2 separate regions of the Homo sapiens genome follow, and region 1 is linked to region 2. The links are contacts of gene promoters, found by promoter capture Hi-C in blood cells and fetal thymus (Javierre and others, 2016). All regions are on one chromosome and are shown on one strand. The core of a region is centred on a gene start or on the middle of the fragment in contact, and the rest is flanking DNA. Distances in the headings are between cores, read along the strand shown.

Region 1 (6,989 bases), core at 458-2,957, 4.4 Mb before region 2:
AGGTAGGATGGCTCACTCCCATAATCTCAGAGTTTTGGGAGGCCAAGGCAGGAGGATCACTGGTAGCCAGAAGTTCAAGACCAGCCTGGGCAAATAAAATAGACCCAGTCTCTACGCAAAATTTAAAACTCAGCCAGTCGTGGTGGTGCACGCCTGCAGTCCCAGCTACTTGGGAGGCTGAGGCCAGAGGATCGCTTAAGCAGAAGAGTTCAAGGCTGCAGTGATCTTGCCACTACACTTCAGCCTGGGTGACAAAGGGAGACTCTGTCTGTCTTTCTCTCTCTCACACACACACACACACACACACACACACACACACACACGAAACGTAAAAAAGAAAAATCTATAGTAATCAACTATTCTCATCTAAATGTTGCATATGGTTAACGTAGAAAAATAAATGACAAGTCAATCAGTAACACTGTGCATAGAAACCACCGTTAAGCACTTCATTCACCTGTTACAGAGATGCCAAATTAGCTCTTCAGTTTAGCTTATTTTAGAGTGCTAGTTATATTTGAACTTGATACCTATCCTCCAAAAAAACCAAAATATTTCCGAACATTAACTCACAGTCTTTCATGTCATCTCTGAACAGGAAAGGGGACATTTGCTGCCTTTTGCTTCAGAAAAATCAACCACCATACTGAATCATGTAATGGAAATACTTATATCTTGTTCTGAGGTTGCTGCTCAGATCTTGAGTGAAATATAATCACATGGTAAGGGGACCTGGGCCCTAAACACTTCATCCTGTCTACAGCTAAAGAATAGTACAGTATATGAGAATCCATCAGGATCATCACTTCTTACATGTGTTCGTATTGTCAGCACAGAATACGTAGCAAGTGTTCTACAGACGTCGAAAGAACTAGCAAACCCACTGTTGTTTGTGGCGCTCTCACTTCCTGTACTATTTTATTACTCAAGATAAGCCTAAAAGAACAGACAAAACTATCACGAAAACGATTTCTTAACAGAACTATTTTAAAACAAGAGAATCCTCAATTAAAATCATGCCATTTTCTTTCTCTGAAATCTTTAAATTACAGATGTGCTCATCTTTGTTGCCTGGATATGAGTTCTTTCAGCTGGGCAGCGGGAGACTCAAAGTAGTGACTTTTAAGGGATCCTACCAGAGGTGGGGGAGCCAATATAAATTACGTATCCTAATCTGAGACACTCTTCTGTCCTAATACCTGAAGCTTATAGCTTGTCAGGTGGCTTTTCCATGGAAAAACGAGGACATAAGAGAGAGGGCGGACCTTAAGAGTTCTACGGAGGAGCCGGTAACGGCAGCAGGCTTGTCAATCAACTGCAAGGTTGCAGCCCAAAAGAAAAAGAACTCACTTGATCGCTCATCATCGACTCCTCAGAGGCCCTCTAGGACTACCGAGAATCTCTTGCCCTTTGGCTCTTGCCCCCGACATCTCTCCTGGCCCCCCGCCCTGCCCCAGGAGGTCTGGTCCTCTCACCCGCTGCCAAATTCTCACACAGCCTCAAAGGGATCCTCAGGGCGTAAAGCAGCCCCAGCCCCGCCACGAACCACAACGAGGCCCCAGTCCCCGCCAGCCCGGCCCGCAGTCGCTCCCTCCAGCCTAGCGTCGGGTTTAGGCCAGGGACAGATGCAGGAGACGCTCCAACAGCTGCGGCTTCACCCACGCCGCCACGGTCCGCCATCTTGCCGCTATCGCAGGCGCCAGGAGCTGGGAGGGGAGAAGGACAGGAAACCGGGAGTCGGGAATCCTGGGATAGTGGCGGACCTGAAGTTGGCCTCTGTGAAGGCTGAGTCCTGGGGAACCGGGACCGAGAAGATTTCGAAGGTGGAGGAGCGTGTCTCAAGATTGGGGCTACCTGTTCTTTCGTGGGGCAGGGAAGGGGCGGACAGCAGCGCCTATTCTGGAGGAACTGGACTGAGATGTGACCCCGAAGTGTTACCGCTTCCAAACGAAATGAGGGTCACCTTTCACACCGCCCCCCCCCCGGGGTTGGAAAAGCCACCGATCGTTCCAGCTGCCGAGCAGCTCTTAAAGCTTTGGATTCGGCTGTCGTGGAGATAACGGGCACCAGAAAAACTTGTAGGAGTAGCAACAGCTATTTGGTCGGATGGAGGCCAGAAGCCAAGAATAATCGAAACACGCTGCCAGCGCCCATTAGATGGATGGGAAATGAGTGTAACTCATTGGGAAAGATATTAGACTTCAAATCACCTAAGGCAAACCCTACTTCCTGGGGCGCGGGCGCGGGCGCTGGCGTTAGGAGACGTCACTCCCGCGCATAACTGACATGGGGCCCTCTTGGTCGGCGTTTCCGGGCGGGTCCTTCCGACGGCCGCCGCGGTGATTCCATCACTCGGCTTTCTTCCCGGCCTGCCTCGCGCCCGTAGCCGGGCTGGGCCAGAACAGCCCAAGATGGCCGACTTCGATGATCGTGTGTCGGATGAGGAGAAGGTAAGGGGTCCGCCTCTCTCTCTTACCTCCTCCCCCGACAGGGAACTGGGGCCCGGCCCGGCTGCGTTGGGAGCCTAGCAGTGTCCCCAGGAAAAAGAAGCTTCTTGGTCCATGCTGACATACGCTCTCCGCAGTCGGGACGCTTCCCTCTTAGGGGGCTTTCCTCTGCCTCACGGTGGCCCCAGTTCCTCGTTCCTCGACTCTCCTTTTCTCTCAGGCCTGAGGCACAGCCCAGGGGCCTCCCTGCAAGGGAACAGACGTTTCCTTTATTGGATCGTGACTGTGGACTTTTTTCTGTAATTTTGCGAGAGGGTGGTGGTTATGTTGCGACATATCAAAAAGCAGTTATTTTACCGCCTTTAGCAGTTGGGGCTCACCCCATCCCCCCATTTGTAGATATAATTGGGGTTAGTTTAGGGCGAGTCACTTCCTGGTCAGGATGGCCTCTTAACTTCCCTTTTGCTCCTCCTTCCTCAGGAAGTGATTTTGCTGTCACGACTCTTCGACAAGGAGAGGTCCCAAATGTTGTCCATCTCCCTACACATGCACTACTTTTCTCCTGTACTGTCGCCTGTCTGATTCGCTATAATAAATCTGTGAGCCTCAGGGCATTTGCTTCAGAATTTGAACACCAGTCTTTCCCTATAGACACATCCCTTTTAACGATAATTTTTGAAAATTTTGTTTCTTGTTAACAAATCTAGAATAGCTGATGGATTTTCTTAACCTCCAGAAAGGTTTTCTGTAACACATAATAAACCTTATGTTAACACGTTCAAGACTGAACAAAGCATCCTGCCTTCTTTGATGCTCCACTGTGGAGTCTTTGATCAGTTGAATTTGTCAGTGTGCATTTTGTATGCTCATTTCTTGAAAAGGGTCTTAAATACAAGAGCACATTCTAAGGTGGAATAACTTTTCTTCTGACAGTTGCACAGTTTCATAACAGTTTGTCAGGCTTTTCAGTAAGTACATGGTTTTAGGGCACGTAGAACTTAGAATGACCTCACAAGGCAACTTATTGGACAAGAATTATGACATTTGTCTCCCACTGTGGCTATTAGAAAATGTGTCCCCTTGAGTGCTCTGTAAATCTACCTGGGTGTTTTTTTCAATAAGAAGTTGGGATGGGAAGGGGACTGTTATGATCCATAAGTCCTCTGTACGGAATAACTTGATATATGTAGATATGGCATGCCATTTTGAAATGTTTAACAAGCCATTGACAACAGCGTTAGATTTTCTCTTATTTGGAAACTGATCTTCATACATGTTTAAGATTTAGGACAAAAACATTTATGTATAAGCCTATGCTGGAAATCGATCTATAATAAATTGTTCTAAGGCAAATAGTTACTATTCAAATAAAATTAAGCAAAAATCCTGTTACAATACAACTAAACAATTTTTTTTTTTTTTTGAGACGGAGTCTCGCTCGGCTCACTGCAACTTCCGCCTCCCTGGTTCAAATTATTCTCCTGCCTCAGCTTCCCGAGTAGCTGGGATTACAGGCACCCGCCACCAAGTCCAGCTAATTTTTGTATTTCTTGTAGAGAGTGGGTTTCGTCTTGTTGCCCAGGCCGGTCTCAAACTCTTGGGCTCAAACGATCCATCCGTCTTCGCCACTTAAAGTGCTGGGATTACAGGCGTAAGCCACCGCGGCCGGCCAAAATTTCACAAATAATTTAAATAATAAACTTTTAAGTTTATTGTGCCTACCTGATACACATTGACCAGTGTTGTTGGATTTTTGTCTTTGATACCAGGTTAGAATGCCTTTAATTAAACTTGGGAAAATATATATTTTAAAATGCCAATTAAGATGCCTTTAGATACTGGCAGTGTTTTAATTAATAACATTAATGTCTTGGGTTATGGTTTTTTTTTTTTTTTTTTGAGATGGAGTCTCGCTCTGTCACCCGGGGTGGTGTGCAGTGGTGCGATCTCCGCTCGCTGCAACCTCTGCCTCTCTGGTTCAAGCGATTCTCCTGCCTCAGCCTCTCGAGTAGCTAGGATTACAGGCGCCCGCCACCAAGCCTGGCTAATTTTTTGTATTTTTAGTAGAGACGGGGTTTCACTATGTTGGCCAGGCTGGTCTCGAACTCCTGACCTCATGATCTGCCCGCCTTGGCCTCCCAAAGTGCTGGGATTACAGGCGTGAGCCACCGAGCCCAGCCAGTATTGTTTTTTTTAATAGCAGATCTGTGACCAGTTTCCTCTTCTAGCATACTTTTTTTGTTGCCAAGTATATTTTAATATTGTTTTTTATCTTTGTTACATTTTCTAAAGGCAGTGAACCTTTAGAAAATTTGGTGATAATGGACTCTTAGTTTCCTTGTAAATATTTATGTAAAAGCTAGTAATATCATCTATTCTCATAACTGCTGAAGTTTTTTTAATCACTTTATAAAGAGGAAGTTGGGTTTTGTTACCTGAAATGGTCATGATGAGCTGTCTAAATAAAACAGGAAGTTGAAAGTGTAATAACTTTTAGAAATAAATCTTTTAGTTGTAGCTTTGAGTTCACAGTTTCTGAGAATGAACTTGAGCTCTTTAGTTACATGCTTAGCAAGACCAAGATACTATAATTAGGAATCCTGAAATATGAGATGAATTACTTCTTTGGGTTCTTTTCATTGTCTATTTCCTTTATTTCATTCAACATTTGTAAAACATAAAAGCAAAGAGAATTTTGGGGGGCTGGAAAAAAGTGTGACTAGCATATTTTTTCCCTTCAGCCTAACTAGTGGAATATTTGTGTACAATTTCAAAAGTATGGTAATTGAGAAGTCATGCTTTCAGTTTAGACAATGCTTTCAGTAATAAGATAAAGTTTTCAGTATTAAGAAAAACTACATGCTTTCAGTTTAGACAATGGTAGTGGTGTTAAGGCATTTTTGAGAAACAAGTTTATCAAAATTATTTAGTAGAGCAGTAGAAAATGTTGTAAATAGATGAAATATGAGGGCTTTGTTAGAGCACATGAAAAATATTTTATACTTTTTTTTTTTTTTTTTGAAACGAAGTCTTGCACTGTCTCCCAGCGGGCTGGAGTGCAGTGGTACGATCTCGGCTCACTGCAACCTCCACCTCCTGAGTTCAAGTGATTCTCCTGCCTCAGCATCCCAAGTAGCTGGGATTACAGGCACCTGCCACCACACCCGGCTAATTTTTTGTATTTTTAGTAGAGACAGGGTTTCAATATGTTGGTCAGGCTAGTCTCAAACTCCTGACCTCGTGATCCGCCTGCCTTGGCCTCCCAAAGTGCCGAGATTGCAGGCGTGAGTCACTGCACCTGCCAAATATTTATGCTTTTAAACTGGATCCTTGATTATGTATTACCTCCTTAATTTACTAGTTACCATTGTAGGATAAAGCAAGCCCTAAAGATTGTTTGGTGTGGCTGTTTTCTAACAAGTCATCAATTAATATTAAAACTGTCATTCTTCCATCTTCACTTTTCAGTTAGTTTTGCTGAGAGGTATTCATATAATCTGTTAAGACATCCTAGGACAGGCCGGGCCCAGTGGCTCACGCCTGTGACCCCAACACTCTGGGAGGCCGAGGCAGGTGCATCATCTGAGGTCGGGAGTTTGAGACCAGCCTGACCAACATGGAGAAACCCCATCTCTACTAAAAATACAAAAATTAGCTGGGCGCAGTGGCACATGCCTGTAATCCCAGCTACTCAGTAGGCTGAGGCAGGAGAATCGCTGGAACCTGGGAGGCGGAGGTTGCGGTGACCCGAGATCACGCCATTGCACTCCAGCCTGGGCAACAGGAGCGAAACTCCGTCTCAAAAAAAAAAAAAAAGAAAAGAAAGCCCGGGCGCGGTGGTTCATGCCTGTAATCCCAGCACTTTGGGAGGCCGAGGCGGGTGGATCACGAGGTCAGGAGATCGAGACCTGACCTCAGGAGATCGAGATCCTGGCTAACGCAGTGAAACACCGTCTCTACTAAAAATACAAAAAAATTAGCCGGGCGTGGTGGCAGGTGCCTGTAGTCCCAGCTAATCGGGAGGCTGAGGCAGGAGAATGGTGTGAACCCGGGAGGCAGAGTTTGCAGTGAGCCGAGATTGTGCCACTGCACTCCAGCCTGGGTGACAGAGCAAGACTCCATCTCAAAAAAAAAAAAAAAGAAAAAAGAAAAGAAAAAGAAATCCTAGGACAGGAGCATAAAGCCTAATAAGCAGGTGCAAACTCACATGTCCAGTCTTGTTAGTAGTACTGATTTATCATAATTTCTTCCAGAACACTTAGCTGTTTTATTACGACCAGGCTTAATGCTAAACAAAGTAGTGTAAATTTGTCAGAAAATTCAGATCCCAGGTTTTTCTGATTATGTAGCCATGCTTTTTTCACTATACTTTTCTTTTCCATATAGGTATGAATGAAAAACCAGAGTAGAGACATCCATTTAGTGGATTATAAATGAGGTATTATGGGCTGGGCATGATGGCTCACGCTCGTAATCCCAGTACTTTGGGAGGCCAAGGCGGTCAGATCATCTGAGGTCAGGAGTTAGAGACCAGCCTGACCA
Region 2 (6,162 bases), core at 924-3,423:
TCCTCCCACCTCAGCCTCCTGAGTAGCTAGGACCGCAGGTGCCCACCACCATACTCAACGGGCATAAAAATTAATTTTAAAAATGTTTCCAGTTATGACCATCTTTCGTCCAATCTCAAACTTATTTTTTTCAATCTTGTAAATATGATGAGGTGGAATAAGTTGTCCAGGGACTTAACATTTTGATCTAGTATATTTTTAATTTATGGAAGAAATATTCCTCCTGTCTGTGATTTGGCTGTGCACACTTTTGTGAGGTTGGACTGGAGATACCGACTTGGGTACTTGCAGAGGAGGAGCTTCTTCCTTAACGGGATATTTAAGAGGCCCCGATTTTGCCTTGTTTCGAAAATTATTCAAGAAATAATTAATTACCATGCCCCTCTTTCTGCAAATCCTGTATTCATGGTATACTACCTCCAATACAGCATCTATTAAACATGTACAAATACATCATTTGCAAGAATAACAATCTTGGAATAATGAAAATGCTTCTACCTATTTGTTGTTCCTGTCTTATCTCTAAGTTCATCTAAGTTTCGGAAGGGTAGTTATGTATAAAGGAACTTCACTTTGGAAATTCCATTTTTCTCTAGTCCTAGAGAGTTACTGCTAACTCCATTCATTTTGACATTTAAATACTATTTTATATTGTTATTTAAGTGTTCAACATGTACTAGTTCAGTCTCCTCAAAATACTGAGTAAGTTCCTTGTGCTTAGAATAGTTGTTTCAAACTTTGTGTGTGTGAATGAATGAATTTTACATTTCTCAAGCACCTAGTCCACAACGGGCACAAAAAAGCTATTTAGTAAGTACTGTTTAATTAATAAATGATACCTCAGGTTTGTCTCCCTTCCTCCGGATCCCCATAACATGTACATTTATCACATCGCCCAGATTTCCTAGACATTACAGATTTTCTGTTCTACGGCCCCCATAAGAACAGTGCAGGTGCCACACCATATGTCTGGGACATATGGTCCTCAATAGCTGCAATATGAAACTATTTCTATTGCAATAAATCTAATATCTATTCCTCTCTGTTTACTAATAGTTTTGATTACAACTTCAAATTTTAAAAATCGAGGATGAAGTTAAATAGAAGGGAACTGTCCCCTTTCTTCTATTTAACCTCGTCTTCGATTTTTAAAATTACAAAAGCATAATAGTAAAAAAAAGTTTGACAATACAAAATGATAAAGTAAAATTCGCCTTCACCAAAAGTCATCTATTTCCCCTTCTGTGGTTTCCACGTTGCGGCTGGTAACTCGGGGCTTCCACGCTGGGCGAGCCTAGAGAACATCCAGTACACACAGGAAGCAGCAGCGCGGGCCAAATGGCGCTGAGACCTGCGCACCTGTCCACGGACCGCCCACTCGCCAACTCTGACCTTGGGTGAGTCTCTCAAACTTGAGTCTCGGAATCTTCCACAAAATGCTACCCATCTCACCAGGTCGAGTGAGGAGGGTCGTGTTATGTGTAAGCACTTTGTGAAATCTAAAGCACGAGGCAAACGTAAAGCATTGTAGGGGGTCCTAGAGAAGTCTTTGTGCCTGCCTATCAGAGCCGTTTCAGTTCCCCGCAGCAGCTTCCAAGGACCTCCCACCATGCCCGCCGCTTCGGCTCCTGCACTGCAAATCTCGCGGCTCGGCCTGCAGCGGCGGCTTCCCCTGGCCTCCCACCCCAGCGACTGAGCGCGGAGCCCAGCGCGCACGAGCGCCAGCCTGGCTCAGAGACACCCACGAAGCCAGGGCCTTTCAGCGCCTGCTAACTGGCGCTACCCCTAGGGCCGCCTCTCGGTTTTAAACGTAAACAAGAGTTGCCCTTCCGTCTTCCAAGACCTGCAAATCGAAGCTTCTTTTCCTCCAGAAGCCCCGCCACCTTCTAAGCTTCTCCCCAGCCTCAGCCACGCCCCAGCCTGCAAAAGCCGGGTCCTTTACGCCCCCTGGCTCCGTATTTGATTTCGGCGCGCGCCATACCTGAGGGCAGCTGTGATTGGTTGGAGGTGAGCGAAGTTCCTATATGATTGGCTGATAGCGGCTAGGACGGGTGAAGGCCAAGGGCGGAGAATTATGGGAGGGATTAAGACTGCAAGAGCTGAGTGATGGTTGGTTCCTGAACAAAGAGGGCGGAGTAAAAGGCGGAAGCAGAATTGGGGGCGGGGCTTTGTGGAACTTGGGGGACCCAGCGAAATGGAAGAAGTTAGGTGTCCAGAGCACGGTAAGGGGCTAGGGTCTCAGCGTCCCGGGGCCTGTTGATTTAGCGTGGCGTAATCGTTGTTCACTTTCTTCTCTCTTCAGGGACTTTCTGCTTTCTTAAGACCGGCGTCCGCGATGGCCCGAATAAAGGAAAGAGCTTCTACGTGTGCCGGGCAGACACGTGCAGCTTCGTGCGGGCCACCGAGTAGGTCTGGAGCTGGGCCCCACTCCCTGTGGCTGCCCGGGGCCTCCCGAGAGGAGCTTCCCGCTCCCCGCTGTCGGGCGTCACAGGGCCGAGGAGTGGTGGGGCCCTAGTTTGCGGTGTCAGGACCCTTTAAGCAATTGGTGATCCCAGGGCAGCGTGGCGTGTTCGGAAGACGCCCAGCTAATTCTGGCTGTGTGACCCGAGGCTGGTTACCCCCCTCTCTGGGCCGATGGTTCCCCTACCTGTAAAATTGAGGATCCGGTGTTTTCCAGCTCTGGGTTTCTATTCACTTGACAGGCCTTAACCACTCCCTTCTCCTGCCCAGACAGTCCCTCCCCCTTTAAAGGAGTAAGGACACACAGCAGACATAGTGGAAAATAATTTGTCCCTGTTTTGCACTAGTTTTAGGCCCGACGGTTTTTTTTAAATGTTTGAGCTTAAAACACTCTAGTGATTAGTTGTTAGCCTTCTTATTTTTAAGTAGGATTCTCTGCATCTAAATGGTGAAATTGATAATTCAAAGAAATTAGCGCTGGAAGAAACAACGGAGGGCCTGGCGCGGTGTGTGACGCCTGTAATCCCAGCACTTTGGGAGGCGAAGGCGAGCGAATCGCTTGAGCCCAGGGGTTCGAAACCAGCCTGGGCAACATGGTGAAATCCCGTCTCTACGAAAAATTAAAAAAAATTGTCTAGGCATGGTATCACACGCCTGTAGTCCCAGCTACTCGTGAGGCTGAGGTGGGAGGAGAGAGTCAGAAATGTTAAGCATCTTCTCTAAAGTGAGGAAAGTTAATAGTTTGTCAAGTGTTAATGTTTTCACAGTACCAAGTGTCTACATTTTCTATGTGAATTTTAAAACTATCATCACATCATTAAACATCTCCTGCTCTCTATTCAGCAAAACTTGGTAGAGAAAAGTTATTTTTCTCCGTGTCAGATGTAGAGTACATAATGGATATCAGTATTAGAAAAGTGCCCTTTCAACATGTATACTAACTTCCCATGTTTCTGTTTCATGAGTTAGATGATTTACACTGAGCCTCTCAGATATAGTACCCAGGTCAAGTTTTGTGAGATAGAAGCATTTTTACCTTTGCAGGAATTCAACATTAATGGTGGCATAAGATTTGGTTTTACATTAAGAGAAACACTCTTATTTAGGATCCCATCTACACAAATGCTTTGCTATACAAACTAGCACAGTGGTATTTGAAGACAATTATTTGATAAACTTGATTTATTTGGACTATATCTGATAACCAATATACAGGCCAAAAAAAGTGCCACAGGTTTAGGAGAGTACTTTAAACCTTCACTCAAACCTGTTTACTCTCAAATGTTATATATATTTAAATTTTTTCATAATAAGTTGGAAGGGAGTGATTAAAAACTTACACAAAACAAGAAGCATATAGGGCGTATTGTTAGAGGTAGGCGTGTGAATAACACTAAGTGACAGCTCTCAGCTTGTTAGAGGGAAAGGATGAAGGGAAGAGCCTGGGGAAAATTCATACAGGGCCTCACAGCCAGCCCTAATTATGTCATTCGTAGGGGGATCCCAGTGTAGAGATTACACAGTGCAGTGTGGTTTTAAACTTTTGAGTCATCAAGAAACAGTTATGCTTTATTTGAGAAAGTGGGTAAAGATGAAAGCTAGGGACTTCTTCCCCAAAGGAATGCCCATAGCTGTGATAATGTGTGGGAATTACAAACCCAGTAGAGGTTATACATAGATTCTTGGTGTAAAAACCCATAGTTTTGATTTGACTTTAGGATATTGATCTCTGTTCCTGACCTAAAAATGTTTTCAACTTTTTTCTTTTCTCTAGCATTCCTGTTTCCCATTGCTTATTGCATGAGGACTTTGTGGTAGAGCTTCAGGGTTTGCTTCTGCCACAGGACAAGAAAGAATACAGGTAAGGGTCCAAAAGGAACATCTAAGTGTATTTGCTTTTTTTTTTTTTTCTCCCTGAAAGAGTTGTAGCCAGGTATGTATTAGGATTGTTCTTTAAAAGTCATTTTAAAAAACAAAATTTGTATATGTATTAAGTGTCTTTTGGCTGTCACTACCTAAATACCAAGCAGCTAGTTAATCTGAGAAGTCTGATTTCTAGTAATTTTCACGTAAATGGCTCCACAATCATCCCTCTCCAACTGTCAGGTAGCCTATAATGACAGCTGACCATTGGCCACTAACTTGCCCTTAACTTGTCAATCTTCTAATTCTGGTAATAGAACAAGGTAGTGAGTAAAAATGGCTAAACATATTTAGTCCTCAATAAATGTTAGTTTCTTTTCCTTTATATGGGAATTTGGGAAGGGCAGAGAAGTCTATAGAGCTGGGAGATATTTGTCACGAGTATTCAAAGATAAAGTAGGAATTCCCTAAGTGTTAGAGAGAGGTCATATTTAATGGACTAATATATTGCATTAGAGTACTAAGGCATGAATTAACATGGCATTTTCAGGGAAAATTTGATTTGTTAATAGTTTAACATATCTTTAAACAGAGACTTTAGGCGATAAGGCTGGCCAGGAAGGTAGGGGTCAGGATGTGATAGATGGTCTTTGTGTGATATTCTATGCACTTCATAATTTATATATTCTAGATCCCCCCACCCAATTAAAGGCATTTGAGTACCACCTACAATTTTTATATACCTGAGTACTGTTCATACTTCTATTTTTCTTAATTTAGTTATATGTATAGTAAGATACACAAGTCTTAAGATTTCAACCAGTTGAGTTTTGAGAATGCATGTACCTGCTCATAAAACCAAGATCCGAGTCAAAATATTACCCCAATAAGTGCCATCAGTCCCCTTCAAGTTAATTTCACCCCTCCCATCTCCACCCCTGTCAGCAATCACTGTTCTGATTTTTATCTCTTTAGATGTGTTTTGATTGTTCTTGAACGTTATATAAATGAAATCCTACTGCATGTACTCTTCTGTGTCTGACTTCTTTTACTTAACAGTATGTGAAATGTATATAATATGTATCAGTAATTCATTCATTTTTATTGTGGAGTTGAATTTCATTTATAAATGCACCACTTTGTTTGGTGTGCCTATTTGCCATCAGAAAATCTCGACGTTATCTGTTTAAATATTTTATCCTTTTTTTTGCATTGAAATTTTTATCAAGTAGTTTTAGATTCACATACAGTTGTAAGGAATAATACAGAGTTATCCCCTGTAGACTTTATCCAGTTTCCCCCAATGGTAACGTTTGCAAGGCTTAGAAATATATCACAAACAGGATATTAATATTGGTACAACCCACCAGTTTTATTGGTAAAGGTAGTTTTACTTGAACTAATTTATGTGTGTGTGTATATTCTATACAATTTTATCCTGTCGAGTCATGTATCTACCACTACAGTCAAGGTACTGAAGAGTTCCATCACAGGATCTCTCTGTTGCCCTTTCTATAACCATACCCCCTTCCCTCCCTTCTGCCCTCTTCACTCCGGCAATCAGGAATTTGCTTTTCATTTCTAAAATTTTGTCATTGCACAATTGTTACATAAGTGGAATCATAAAGTATAACTTTGGAGATCTTTGCCTGTTTTAAAATTTTTGTCTTTTTTTAAAACTGAGTTGGTAGAGTTCTTTGTAAATTCTCTATACAAGTTAGGCCAGGCATGGTGGCTCATGCCTGTAATCCCAGCACTTTGGGAGGCTGAAGTGGGCAGATCACTTGAGATTAGGAGTTTGAGACCAGCCTGGCCAACCAACATGGTGAAACCCCATCT

What was found. Contacts are between HindIII fragments. The CHiCAGO score rates a contact against its expected background, and 5 or more counts as called.
Region 1: a contact is called between the fragment with the promoter of ST7L here and the fragment with the promoter of TTF2 in region 2, in 1 of 17 cell types (fetal thymus). The highest score is 5.7, in fetal thymus.

Annotation. Positions count from the first base shown.
Region 1 is chr1:112,617,434-112,624,422 of GRCh38, forward strand. ST7L (suppression of tumorigenicity 7 like) reads right to left here and starts at 1,708. Exons shown (of 15, transcript NM_017744.5): 1 at 1,476-1,708. The coding sequence starts at 1,680. CAPZA1 (capping actin protein of muscle Z-line subunit alpha 1) reads left to right here and starts at 2,399. Exons shown (of 10, transcript NM_006135.3): 1 at 2,399-2,450. The coding sequence starts at 2,412. RefSeq lists enhancers at 1,672-1,771, 1,880-3,079, 2,232-2,681. The HindIII fragment of the contact is 828 bases long and covers 1,204-2,031 here.
Region 2 is chr1:117,058,153-117,064,314 of GRCh38, forward strand. TTF2 (transcription termination factor 2) reads left to right here and starts at 2,174. Exons shown (of 23, transcript NM_003594.4): 1 at 2,174-2,222; 2 at 2,303-2,405; 3 at 4,235-4,321. The coding sequence starts at 2,195. It overlaps CD101-AS1 (CD101 antisense RNA 1), which reads right to left and starts at 1,338. Exons shown (of 4, transcript NR_110786.1): 1 at 1,221-1,338. RefSeq lists a silencer at 1,245-1,294 and an enhancer at 1,715-1,874. The HindIII fragment of the contact is 4,450 bases long and covers 1,890-6,162 here.